Linked DNA regions of Homo sapiens: region 2 is linked to region 1. Evidence: promoter capture Hi-C in human tissues and cell types (Jung and others, 2019). All regions are on one chromosome and are shown on one strand. The core of a region is centred on a gene start or on the middle of the fragment in contact, and the rest is flanking DNA. Distances in the headings are between cores, read along the strand shown. Region 1 holds the start of N4BP3 (NEDD4 binding protein 3). Region 2 overlaps FAM193B (family with sequence similarity 193 member B).

What was found. The method cuts DNA at HindIII sites, captures the fragments that hold promoters and counts their contacts. A contact is called where the count stands out against the background at its distance.
Region 2: a contact is called between a fragment that was not itself captured here and the fragment with the promoter of N4BP3 in region 1, in 3 of the 25 tissues and cell types used here (dorsolateral prefrontal cortex, spleen and thymus).

What each region holds. Positions count from the first base shown.
Region 1 is chr5:178,108,717-178,114,988 of GRCh38, reverse strand. N4BP3 (NEDD4 binding protein 3) reads right to left here and starts at 1,457. Exons shown (of 5, transcript NM_015111.2): 1 at 1,218-1,457. RefSeq lists enhancers at 228-287, 1-329 and silencers at 368-417, 768-1,087, 1,168-1,717. The HindIII fragment of the contact is 21,734 bases long and covers 1-6,272 here.
Region 2 is chr5:177,545,365-177,551,354 of GRCh38, reverse strand. The region is part of intron 1 of FAM193B (family with sequence similarity 193 member B); the gene reads left to right. Among named protein-coding and RNA genes, the nearest start is that of FAM193B, 6.2 kb to the left of the region's middle. The HindIII fragment of the contact is 4,436 bases long and covers 1,910-5,990 here.

The DNA of each region.
Region 1 (6,272 bases), core at 208-2,707:
TTGTCCTAAGCCAGGGGTCACGGGTTCCCCTCCATGGGCACACACTGCTGTGTATGTATTGCATATATGTCTGCCCAGCCCTCCATGCCTGTTTCTCCCAAGGACACTTGCAACCAGGCTGCCCTAGACTGCGGTCCACCAGGCCTGGAATCCCTCCTGCTGCCCCCCAGGTCAGGAAGAAATAGAGGAAACCTGCCTCATGGGGACTCCGAGTCGCTATGCTAGCTCTAGAGGCGGTGGCAGAGGCAGGCTGGCCGCATTCATTCACAGTCTGGCACATGCACACCACACGCTGCCAGCCGGTAGAGAAGCCCTGCCTGGGAGGGCCCTGGGAGGAGGCTGATAACCGCGCCCAGGATGGCCTCCTGCGTCCGCTCCCTCCCGAGGACAGCCAGGCCCAATCTGTTCCTATGTGGTTGGGGTCGGGGGGTGGCCCAGTGGGAGGCAACGGGTCTCAGTTCTCTTTCTGGATACAGCCAGGGCCCTGATTTCGGCTTGTCCCCAGGCCAGCCCTCACTTGGGCCAAAGGCTGTGGCCGGGACTGGACCGGGTGCTCTGGCGGTCAAGACCTAGGAATGTCCCCTACCCGCAGACCCGCAGCTGCAGCCTGGTGGACCGGCAGGGGGTTGGGGGATAAAGGAGGTGTGGGAGGAAGCGAGAGATCTCATGGGGAAGTCAGAGGGGCAAACGAGGTTGCATCCCCACGGAATTTGTGTCAGGAAAGCAGGGGTGAAGGCGAGGGTTCCCCAAAGCTGCGGGAGGTCCCGGAGCTACCTGGGGGGCGGGGTGGGAGGCGCGTCTCCTCCTGGCCCCTCCCTGAGGCCTGCCGGGAGCGGCTGGGCCGGGGGGCGGAGGCCGAGGTCAGACGCCGGCGCCAAGGACGCCTGCCCCACCCAGCCGTGGCGCAGGGGTCCCGCGCGCTGCTCCCTGGAAAGCGCGTTTGCAGGGGTTGGGGAGAGCAAGGTAGCCTGCCGCCTGCCCCTCCAGCGGAGCATCGGGGTCGGTCCCCGATCCGGTGCCTCGGTGACCGGGAGCAGGGGACACCTGGGCGCACGCCGCACCTTGCCACCCCCGCCCATCTCTCAGACGGGAGCCTCGGCCAGCGGGACAGCAGCTTTGCCAAGGACGCCCGAAAACAAGACCTTGGCGACCCGCCCCACCCCTCCCCACCCCCCGAGTCCAGCCCGGGTCCCCAGCCCCTCGCGCGCCCCACTTACCATGGTGGCGACGCGCTCGCCGGCCCGCGGCTCCGCAGCCCTTGCGCGTCGCAGCTCCCCCGCGCGGATTTGAACCCTCCTGCAAGGCGTCGGCTCGGGCCGGGACTGCGTGCCGGGTCGGAGCGGCGGAGCGGCAGGCGCCGGGAAAACGCGGGCGGGCGCCGGCGCCGGAGCCGGATTGGCGAGGGAGGGACGCGCTCCGCGGCGCTCGATCGCCTGCCCCAAAGGCGGAGGGAAAACCCGGCCTGACTCACCGGCGCGCGGCAAGCCCACAGCCCGGCCCCGGCCCCCGGATGTGGGGGGCGGGGCCGCCTACCCGCGAGCCAACCTGGGCCCCGCCCGGCCCCGACCGCGCCCCCGGCCCTGACCCGCAGAGGCGCCGCACGGCGGTGGCGGGCGAAACCTGGACCGGCTGCGCCTCGCGTCGCTGCCTCCTTGAGCGCCCCGGCTCGTTCCCGAGGGGTGGGCAGCCCCGAGCGCGGCCCACGCCCCAGAGAGCGCACAGCGCCCCCGCTTCTCCTCCTCCGCCGTTCGCCTCGCCCGCCTCCTCTAAGGAAGAGGCGCGTGAGGTCCCTCACCTCCCTAATTGTAGCCGCCTCCTCTCCGGAAAACCTGATTTCCCCCCTTTGGGGATGAACCACAGTAGTACTTTGAGAAGTGAAAAGATTTTACCCCACGACTCTGGCTGAATTGGGCACAGAGTTATTTTCTTTTTGCCTCCAAAGTATTCTAGGGGCAGCAAAATCAGGTGCCTTCAGGGGCCAGAAAAATTACGCAAATGAGTCGTGAGCTTCCTACTAAGACAGTAGGAAGACATGGAAACAGACACAGACACGTAAAGGAGTCATATTCGAAAAATTAAAACACCGTTTCTAATTCAAAAGTTAAGCATAGAGTTACCATATGATCCGGCAATTATAGTCCTCAAACAAGTAATGTTCTTGGCAGTACTAGTCACAATAGTCAAAGAGCCAAAAGGTGGAAACAGCCCAAACTAACAATTGATGAGGGTGTAAGCAAACAATGGTAGATCCATTCAGTGGAATATTATTCAGCCATAAAAAAGAAATGAACGCCATGTGATGACTCATGTCTGAACTCTCCCAGCACTTTTGGAGGCCAGGAGTTCAGGAACAGCCTGGGCAACTCACAAAACTCCATCTCTATCTTAAAAAAAAAAAGACCTGATGTGGTGGCTCACCCCTGTAATCCTAGCATTTTGGGAGGCCGAGGCAGGCGGCTCACTTGAGGTCAGGAGTTTGAGACCAGCCTGGCCAACATGGCGAAATTCTATCTCTACCAAAAACACCAAACATTAGCCAGGCATGGTGGAGCGAGCCTGTAATCCCAGCTACTCGGGAGGCTAAGGTAGGAGAATTGCTTGAACCCAGGAGGCAGAGTTGCAATGAACGGAGATTGTGCCACTACACTCCAGCCTGGATGATGGCGTAAGCCTGTCTCAAAAAAAAAAAGAAAGAAAAGAAAAGAAAAAGAGGAATGAAACACTGATGATACCTGCTACAACATGGATAAACCTCCAAAACATGGCAAGTGAAAGAAACCAGACACAAAGCCCACATGTGTTAATGATGCCATTTATAATAAGTAAATCCAGACAAACAGAAAGCAGATTAGAGCCAGAGGCTGTGGGGAGAGAGAAAGGCAGAGTGATTGCCTAACAAGCATAGGGTTTCCTTCTGGGATGAGGAAAATGTTTTGGAGCCTGACAGAGGTGGTGGTTGCACAACGTTATGAATATACAAATGTCATTGAATTGTTTGCTTTAAAACGGCTAATTTTATGGTATGCACATTTTACCTCAATTAAAAAACATCTTGTCACTTGTGGAACAGATTTGGTCTACGGCCCACAAATTTGCAACCCCTTGTGTTCTATGCTGTTCTTACCAATTCTTGCTAGGACAGCATAGAACCTCTAGGAAGAACTTCTGGCCAGGCATGGCGGCTCACGCCTGTAATCCCAGCACTTTGGGAAGACGAGGTGGGCAAATCAATTAAGGCAAATGATTTGCCTGCCTCAGCCTCTCAGTGTGCTGGGAGTACAGGCGTGAGCCACCATGCCTGGCTGAAAGAACTTTTTTTTTGAGATGGAGTCTTGCTCTGTCGCCCAGGCTGGAGTGCAGTGGTGCGATCTCAGCTCGCTGCAAGCTCCGCTTCCCGGGTTCACGCCATTCTCCTGCCTCAGCATCCCAAATAGCTGGGACTACGGGTGCCCACCACCACACTCGGCTAATTTTTTGTATTTTTAGTGGAGATGGGGTTTCACCATGTTAGCCAGGATGATCTCGATCCCCTGACCTCGTGATCCACCCCCCCTTGGCCTCCCAAAGTGCTAGGATTACAGGCATAAGCCACTGCGCCCGGCAACTTTTTTTTTTTTTTGAGATGGAGTTTCACCCTTGTTGCCTAGGCTGAAGTGCAATGGCGTGATCTCAGCTCACTGCAACCTCCCCCTCCCAGGTTCAAGCGAGTCTTCTGTCTCAGCCTCCCGAGTAGCTGGTTGGCACAGGTGTGTGCCACCATGCCCGGCTAATTTTGTATTTTTAGTAGAGACGGGGTTGGTCAGGCTGGTCTTGAACTCCCGACCTCAGGTGATCCACCTGCCTCGGCCTCCCAAAGTGCTGGGATTACAGGCGTGAGCCACCACGCCCGGCCAGAATTTCTAATAGAACTGCCAGACTTCAGAATACTTGTCTAAGAAAACTCATTAATAGCTGCTGTGGGTCTCAGCCCTTGAGGAGCCAGTCTGGTAGGGTTACTCACTGGGACAGATAAAGTTTCAGAGCAAGAACCTGTTTGGCTGTTTGGGGGACCCAAGGAAAGGCCTCACTGGAGCAATGGTTTTTGAGATGGTCCTGGAAGCATTTCCACTGAGGAGTGTTCCCAGCAGAGCAGATAGCAGGGCTAGAGAAGGCAGGGCACGTTCAGCTTGCTAGCAAGGTCCAAGCCCTGGGTGGGAAAGGTTAGTGGTGGGAAGGGACGAAGGTGGCAACCGAGAGCAGACCCAGAGAAGCCTCTTGAAGTGGGCGCTGGGAGCCTCCGAAGCATTGAGAGAGAGGAGCTTGTGCACGCAGCTGGACGTGGGGCCTGTGAGGTGGCACAGGCAGGCAGGGAGGTCGGGTCCCCTGGGTCTCTAGGGAAAGAAATGGGGCCAAGGAGGACCTGGAAGCTGGAAGCTGCCGAGAAGGTGTTCATTCTGTCAACTGAGTGGGAGAGACAGTGATAGAGATGTTTATGAGAGGGTTTGAATGAAGGTTCTTATAAGAATCCACTTGCAAGAAATGGCATGAGGAAGAGAGAGAGAGGTCACAGCTAAGTTCTGATGAAAACTCAGATTCTGGGTTGGGTGCAGTGGCTCACGCCTGTAATGCCAACGCATTAGGAGGCCGAGGTGAGAGCATTGCTTAAGCCCAGGAGTTCCCTGGGCGACATAGCAAGACCCCATCTCTATAAAAAAATAAAAAATTAGCCAAGCCAGTGGTGCCTATAGTCCCAGCTACTCGAGAGGCTGAGGCAAAAGGATCCCTTGAGCCTAGGAATCAGAGGCTGCAGTGAGCTATGATCGAACACTGCACTCCAGCCTAGGTGACAGAGCAAGACCCTGTCTTTAAAAAAAAAAAGGCCGGGCACGGTGGCTCACACCTGTGATCCCAGCACTTTGGGAGGCCGAGGCAGGAGGATCACGAGGTCAGGAGATCGAGACCATCCTGGCTAACACGGTGAAACCCTATCTTTATTAAAAATACAAAAAATTAGCAGAGTGTGGTCGTGGGCGCCTGTAGTCCCAGCTACGCGGGAGGCTGAGGCAGGAGAATGGCATGAACCCAGGAGGTGGAGCTTGCAGTGAGCCGAGATGGTGCCACTGCACTCCAGACTGGGCGACAGAGCGAGACTCCGTCTCAAAAATAAATAAATAAATAAATAAATAAAGGCAGGACACAGTGGCTCATGCCTGTAATCCCAGCACTTTGGGAGGCCAAGGCAGGTGGATCACCTGAGATCAAGAGTTCGAGAACCAGCCTGGCCAACATGGTGAAAATCTGTCTGTACTAAAAATACAAAAATTAGGCAGATGTGATGGCGCACTCCCATAGTTCCAACTACTCAGGAGGCTGAGGCAGGAGAATCACTTGAACCTGGGAGGTGGAGGTTGCAGTGTCCCAAGATTGCACCACGGCACTCCAGCAGCCTGGCTGACAGAGCGAGACTCCATCTCAAAAAAAAAAAAAAAGAAAAAGAAGGTGCTCAACTGCACTGCGCTCCTGTCCTGTCCATGCGGGCTGCCTCTTGTTCTCACCCCGTCTCCTTGACCTTGGCCTCCCATTGGCCTTGCTGAGGCCTTTGAGAGAAGAAAGTGGGCTGGGCAGAGGTGAGGAGGCAGAAACCAACAGGAGGCCAGGCCTCTTTTCTTCCCTCCAACATCTGCCTGGACAGTATGGGAGAGGCCAAGCTGGACTCCTGCTGGGATGGGGGGATCTTGTATTCAGTGAACTTTATTTACCTTCCTGGACCTGCACAGCAGATGCCCCTGCAAGGGGCCACTTGCCCCCAGACATGACATTCCTGTAGAGTTGGCATGGGAGCCACACTGCTCAGATGCCAAGGGGTGGGGCACTCAGGGCACCAGGCCAGGGGAAGTGAAACCAGCCTCCCTGGATGCACCCACTTCCTGAATTGGCTGACCTGGGACACTTTAATTTCTCTCTCTGAGCCTTAGTTTCCTCAGCTCTGAAAGGGGAGGATTAAGTGAACTAGCACCTCTAAAGCACCCTGCACAGTGCCTGGTAAGTGGCAGCATCTGTGAAGGTCAGTTGGTCCTTCTGCCTTTTCCTTATGGGGAAGGTTTGTCAGAAGGACAGAATGCTTGTCATGGGCCCGTCTTGAAGTGCTGGAAGGCTGAGTCCTGCCCACACCGGCACGCACCTTCGTTGTTGTGGGTCTGTGGTCTGTCTTCCTGCATCCATGCTGTCTGTGAGTGGCCAGGACTGTATCACCCTGCAGCCATCCTGGTGAGGAGGAATTTCCTCATCTCTCT
Region 2 (5,990 bases), core at 2,878-5,377, 570 kb after region 1:
ACCCAAATCCTCGTTTATAGCACAAGAAGGCTGAAACAGTTACTACCTTATTAGCAAAGGAAAACAAAACAAACAAAAAAAAAAATAAAGAACAACTGAAAAAGCAATTGTAGGAGGCAGTGGGGAATAGTGTTTAGAGACTTGGATTGAATTCCCAGCTTAGCCTCCTAGCTTTGTGACTCCGCAAGTTGCTTCTCTCTGACCCCATCAGGAACTTCACAAGAGGCCTTGGTGGCTCACGCCTGTAATCCCGGCACTTTGGGAGGCTGAGGCAGGAGGATCTCTTGAGGCCAGAAGTTTGAGACCAGCATTGGTGACATAGTGAGATCTCTGGTTCTATAAAAAAAAAAAAATCAAAACTTAGCTGGGCATGGGTTCACACCTATAGTCTCAGCTAGTTGGGATGCTGAGGCGGGAGGATTGCTTGAACCCAGGAATTAAGTTACCCAGGACTTCATGTGCACGCCACTGCACCCCAGCCTGGGGGAGAGAGGGAAACACCGTCTCCTTTTAAAATAATAATAATACTTCACAAGAGAAGCAACCTATGCAGCAGCTAGTACATAGAAGCGCCTCACCTAAGAGAGGGGGCAGGAGCTGTGCCAGGTGGCCATACAAAGCCTGAGTGTTCTGGCCTGTTAGCTCTGCTAGCTGTCTTTCATCTCTCTTGGACCACTGAGTTTGTAATCCAGTGTACACTCAATAAGCCCCCAGGAGACTTGCTAGGATGTAAGCCAGCAGTTGGTGAGGAGAGGTGAACTCATCCTACCCTTCCCCACCTCTTGTTCCCTCCACATTGTCCTCTGGGACTTTGCCCAGTCTAGTTTAAAGGGACTCTAGAGATCCGATTCTTCCACTGTTCCCTCAAGAAATTGGAGCAGATGATTAGTCAGTATCTTTAATAAAAGCATCTCATTATGTTTAATTCACTCAGCAGATACCAAAACCACCTCTGTGCCAGGACCTTTATTTGGGGTGCACAGATGGATAAGATAGTTCCTATCTTTGGGGACCTCCCCCTTAGAATCAGTGCCTACCCAGCCTGCACTACTTCCATTGTCAGTAGGAGGAAATGATACTGAGGGGATCCTTGCCACCTCTGGTTCTTCTTTGTAAGCCAGTAGAGACTCACTATATAAAAATGTCAAAAGACCTTTGAAAATGAAGACTTACCCACTTAGGATTTTAATTTTTTTTTTTAATTTAGAGATAGGATCTTGCTATGTTGCCCAGGCTATCCTCAAACTCCTGGACTCAAGTGATACTTCTCCTTAAGCCTCCCAAATAGCTGGGACTACATGTGCATGCCACTACACCCAGCTGAGTTTTAAATTTTTAATTTTTGATATCAGATGGATGATCCTAACACCTTTACTTACCTCATCTAGAATTTTTTAGAGCAGGGTCTATGTTTTAATTTATTTGGGGGGAAATATATTGTGTGTGGACCTTATATACTCAATACATGGCTGTTAAAAATTATAATAAGTAAGGATTCTACCACTTTGTTCTTGTCTGCCCCCACAACTGGGCCAGGCTGGCAGTTATTCATTTAGGCCAGCCATTCGCATGCTGTGATGCCCAGTTTTATTTCACATGGCATTTATTGTGCAGACACTAACCGATCCCAGCTCTGTGCCAGGCCTGGGCTAGCTGCGCATGCAGAAGTGAATCAGACATAGTCCCTTCCCACAAGGGGCTCATAGTCTAGAGAACGTGTGTATAGTAATTGCAGTAATGCTAGAAGGAGATATAGCATCGGCTTCCTCTGAATAAAGGTTCAAATCCTGGACCCTATTAAGTGGCCTTTGCAAGTGTTTCAGCCTCTTGGTTTGTTTTCTCATGTATAAAATGACAATCCAGGCTGGGCGCGGTGGCTCATGCCTGTAATCCCAGCACTTTGGGAGGCCGAGGCGGGAGGATCACGAGGTCAGGAGATCGAGACCATCCTGGCTAACACGGTGAAACCCTGTCTCTACTAAAAATACAAAAAAATTAGCCGGGCATGGTGGCGGGCACCTATAGTCCCAGCTACTTTGGAGGCTGAGGCAGGAGAATGGCGTGAACCTGGGAGGTGGAGCTTGCAGTGAGCCAAGATCGCGCCACTGCACTCCAGCCTGGGCGACAGAGCGAGACTCCTTTCTCAAAAAAAAAAAAAAAAAAAAAAGAAAAGACAATCCAGTCTTACATGGTTAATGTTAGGGTCCAACAAGTGCGGTATGCTTAACACAAGTGGTAGCTCTGAGTATTGTAGATATTTGGTGTCAGGGTTGCCCAAGACATAACCTAGAGGAAGATGGGTCAGAGAATGCTTCTCAGAGCTGAGTCTTCAAGGTTGTGTAGAAGTTCTCCAGAGGACAAGGTGGTAGAAAGGAGTCTAAACAAAGGAAGGAACTTGTACAAAGACCCAGGGCGAGCACCACTCATTTGGAGAGTCGGGAGAGATCCGGCTGAAGGGGCTAGCAGGGTTCTTGAAAACCACACCAAGAGGTTTAGGCTTTATCCTGTAGGTGGTGAAGAATCAATGAAAGGTTTTAAGCAGGAAAGAGAACGTGATGTGCTTCAATACATTCTCTGATAGCATGTGAGGAAGTAATTCTCAGTGGGAGAGACAGCTGTGATTGCTTGATTCCACCTCTCCCTTGCCCCAAGCTAATAATCATCAGATCCCCTGTGCTTTGCTGGACCCTATCCCAGACTTACAGAGTCAGTCTCCAGGTCTGGATCCCAGGTATCTATTGTTGAATTGTTCCCAAGTGACTCTGACATGTGACTGGGTCTGGGAGCTGCTGAATTGAGGGTGCCAGGGGGATCTTTGAGGAGACCTAGGGTATTCTTCAAACAGTGGGTTTCCCAGGGAGGAGCTTTTCCATAAACAAGAACAGAAACAACCTTAGTTTAAAACAGAACAAAAAACCTTCCCCCAGTTCTGATCTATTAATGATATTTGCCAACTTCCATTGTGTATAATCTTCCATTGTGTATCCAAACACTTACCTGTGCCTACTCTGTGCTACAGCTTCTGCTGAATGACTGCAATACAGTGACTTGTGGGACACAGGCTCTGCCCTTGAAAAGCTCACAGTATTGTGGAAAGGACAGATTTCAACCACTAGAATATATATGATAAGCTCTATTCTAGAGATACGTTTTTAAACAAAAGAGTGTTAGGATATCCTAGAGCAAAGCCAAGTTCATTCTTCCTGTGGACTTAAGAGGATGTAACACCCAGATCGAGCCTAAAAAAAAGAGAAGAAAAAGGCAGAAGGAACAGCATATGGGAAGGTGTGACTACTTTATGTATTTGGTCCTTCTTGGCAGGATGTGCAGAAGCAGAGAAGGACTGAGGAGAGGCATGCTATGTCTTGGGAAGGGCCCTGTGTGTGTGCCTTCGGTTCTGTGCCTGTGAGCCTGCCTTCATCCTTCAGACTCTGGGTGGCTCCCAGCACAGCAGCTGCATGGTTGTGCAGCCTGTGGGCCAACATGCTGCAGTCCATCTCCCCTTCATTCTCCACCAAAGGCCCTTAGCTCCCTTTATTATTTCCCCCTCCATGCTTAGGATGCTTAGCACAAGTGGTAGCTACGAGTAGATCTATCTACTGTGAAAAATGATGTAGGGAAACTAAAGCAGAAAGAAGGGGCTGGTGGAACTGCAAACACTGAAGGTTTTATTAGGAAGTTATAGCCAGAAAACAAGGAGCTGGGGGTTCAAAGAGGCCTTGAAGTCACTTGTCTAGTCCTTCTGTCCTTTGCTTCAAGAAATAAATTTGGGGCCGGGCGCGGTGGCTCACGCCTGTAATCCCAGCACTTTGGGAGGCCGAGACGGGAGGATCACGAGGTCAGGAGATCGAGACCATCCTGGCTAACACGGTGAAACCCCGTCTCTACTAAAAAATACAAAAATTAGCCGGGCATGGTGGCGCGTGCCTGTAGTCCCAGCTACACAGGAGGCTGAGGCAGGAGAATGGCGTGAACCCGGGAGGCGGAGCTTGCAGTGAGTCGAGATCGCGCCACTGCACTCCAGCCTGGGCGACAGAGCGAAACTCCGTCTCAAAAAAAAAAAAAAAAGAAATAAATTTGGTTTGGGCAAGTCTCACTTAGTAAGTTTCCCTGTCATTTCTTCCAGGGCAGAAGAGGAAAGAAACTAACGGGTATTGAGCACCTACTTTGTGCCAGGCCCAGGCCAGGTACTTTACATAATTTATTTCCTTCTGTCCTCACAACTCTGTAAAATATGGTTTTATTCCCATTTCATAAATGAGGAAATTGAGGCTCAAAGAAATTGAGTAATATTCCAAGATCATATTGAAAATGGCAACTGGGATTTGAACTCACAACTGTGTGTCTCGTCCCCAAAATTCATGCTCTTCCTCCTCCATGAGTAACGTGTGCTGGGGTTAGAGTAGCAGAGTGGCAGTTTGACCTGAGGATTCAGGTAAATCTGCGGCTTGGGCCCTCCTTGTGGCTCATTGCACCCAGGAGGCAGTTCAGCGGATGAGCTAGCCTTGTGGGGATATTAAAACAGAAAGTTTTAGGGTTAAGGTCACTAGGATCAGAGAGACTCACTCCCAACCGAGCTTGTACAACCAGAAAGGATTCTCCACTGACTAGTCTCGTAGTGTGAAACAGCTGTTCTACCTCCTGGAAGGGCCTGAGCCCACAGCCTGCATGGAAGTTTGGGTAACAGCTCCAGGGCACTGAGGTGGGGTTGTGTCAGCTCTCTTAGAATTAACTGCAGCTCTGATTGTCAGCATTAGAATAGTCTGAGATTCTTCTCACTGATTGCCCTCTCATCAGTGGCTCAGAGTGACTCATAGCATGTTGGGAAATGCACTGTTTTGGCTCTGTTTTAAATTCTGCCTTTGTGTTGAACAGCTGAGACATGAGCCAGATGGGCTTTAAGCTTTCATTTATTTATTCAGTGAATGCCTGCAATGTGTCAGGCCCAAGCCAAGCCTAGGTTCCTGGGCATACTTAAATGACCAAGGTCCACACACTGCCCCCAGAGGGCTCACATTCTACCAGGAATTTAGGAACAGACAGAATACATCTGTGGCACATTTTGATGATGCTATACTAAATAGAATCAGTTGTGCTTAGCTTGACCAGCAAGAGCTTCATTGACCTTTGACCAGAATCTTAGGGAATGAATAGGAATTGTCAAGGGTAGATGTTTCCCGGCACTTAGCACAATTGGCAGGAGACAGGGACTCTGACAATGTTGAATGAGGGAATAAATGGGTGAATGGAAGAGTGACTGATGATAACTATGACAATGAGTTTTTCTAGGCTGAGGATTAATCATTTTCTCTGCTTCTGAAAGGGAATTTTAGCTGCTGGTGTTGTCCTCTGCCTGCCTTGGTGACAGAGAGGCTCTTGGAGTTGGGTGCCTTGAGAGTAGAGTGCTCTAATGGGCCATTTCAAAATAGAATTTGGGACCTGTTGCAGGGCAGCTGGTTAGATACAGCATGTGTCTTGGGGCAATCCTGTACGAACATACACAAACTCTGGAGATGAAAAAGAATCCATGGGATGAATGAGGCCACGCTGAGTGCTGGAAATTCAATCCAGCTTCAGAGTAGTCCTTGACAGCTGTCTGGTCTGGCAATGGGTTATTCCCAAATTGTGGACAGAAAGGCCAAGCTAGAAAATTGAGTCATGCCCCCAGAGAGCTATCTTTTTTTTTTTTTTTTTTTGAGACAGGCTCTCACTGTTACCCAGTTTGGAGTACAATGGTGCAATCTTGGCTCACTGCAACCTCCGTCACTTGGGCTTGAGCAATCCTCCAACCTCAGGAGACCTTATATATTCCTAAAAATTATTGAGGAACCCAAAGAGCTTTTGTTTGTGTTGTTTATATCTATTGATACTTACCAAATTAAATATTAAAGCTGAGAAAGCTTTAAAATATTTTGTCACTAATTTATTTAAGAAAGACAATATTAAAGCTATCTTGTTAACATAACAATTTTTAATGAAAACTATATTTT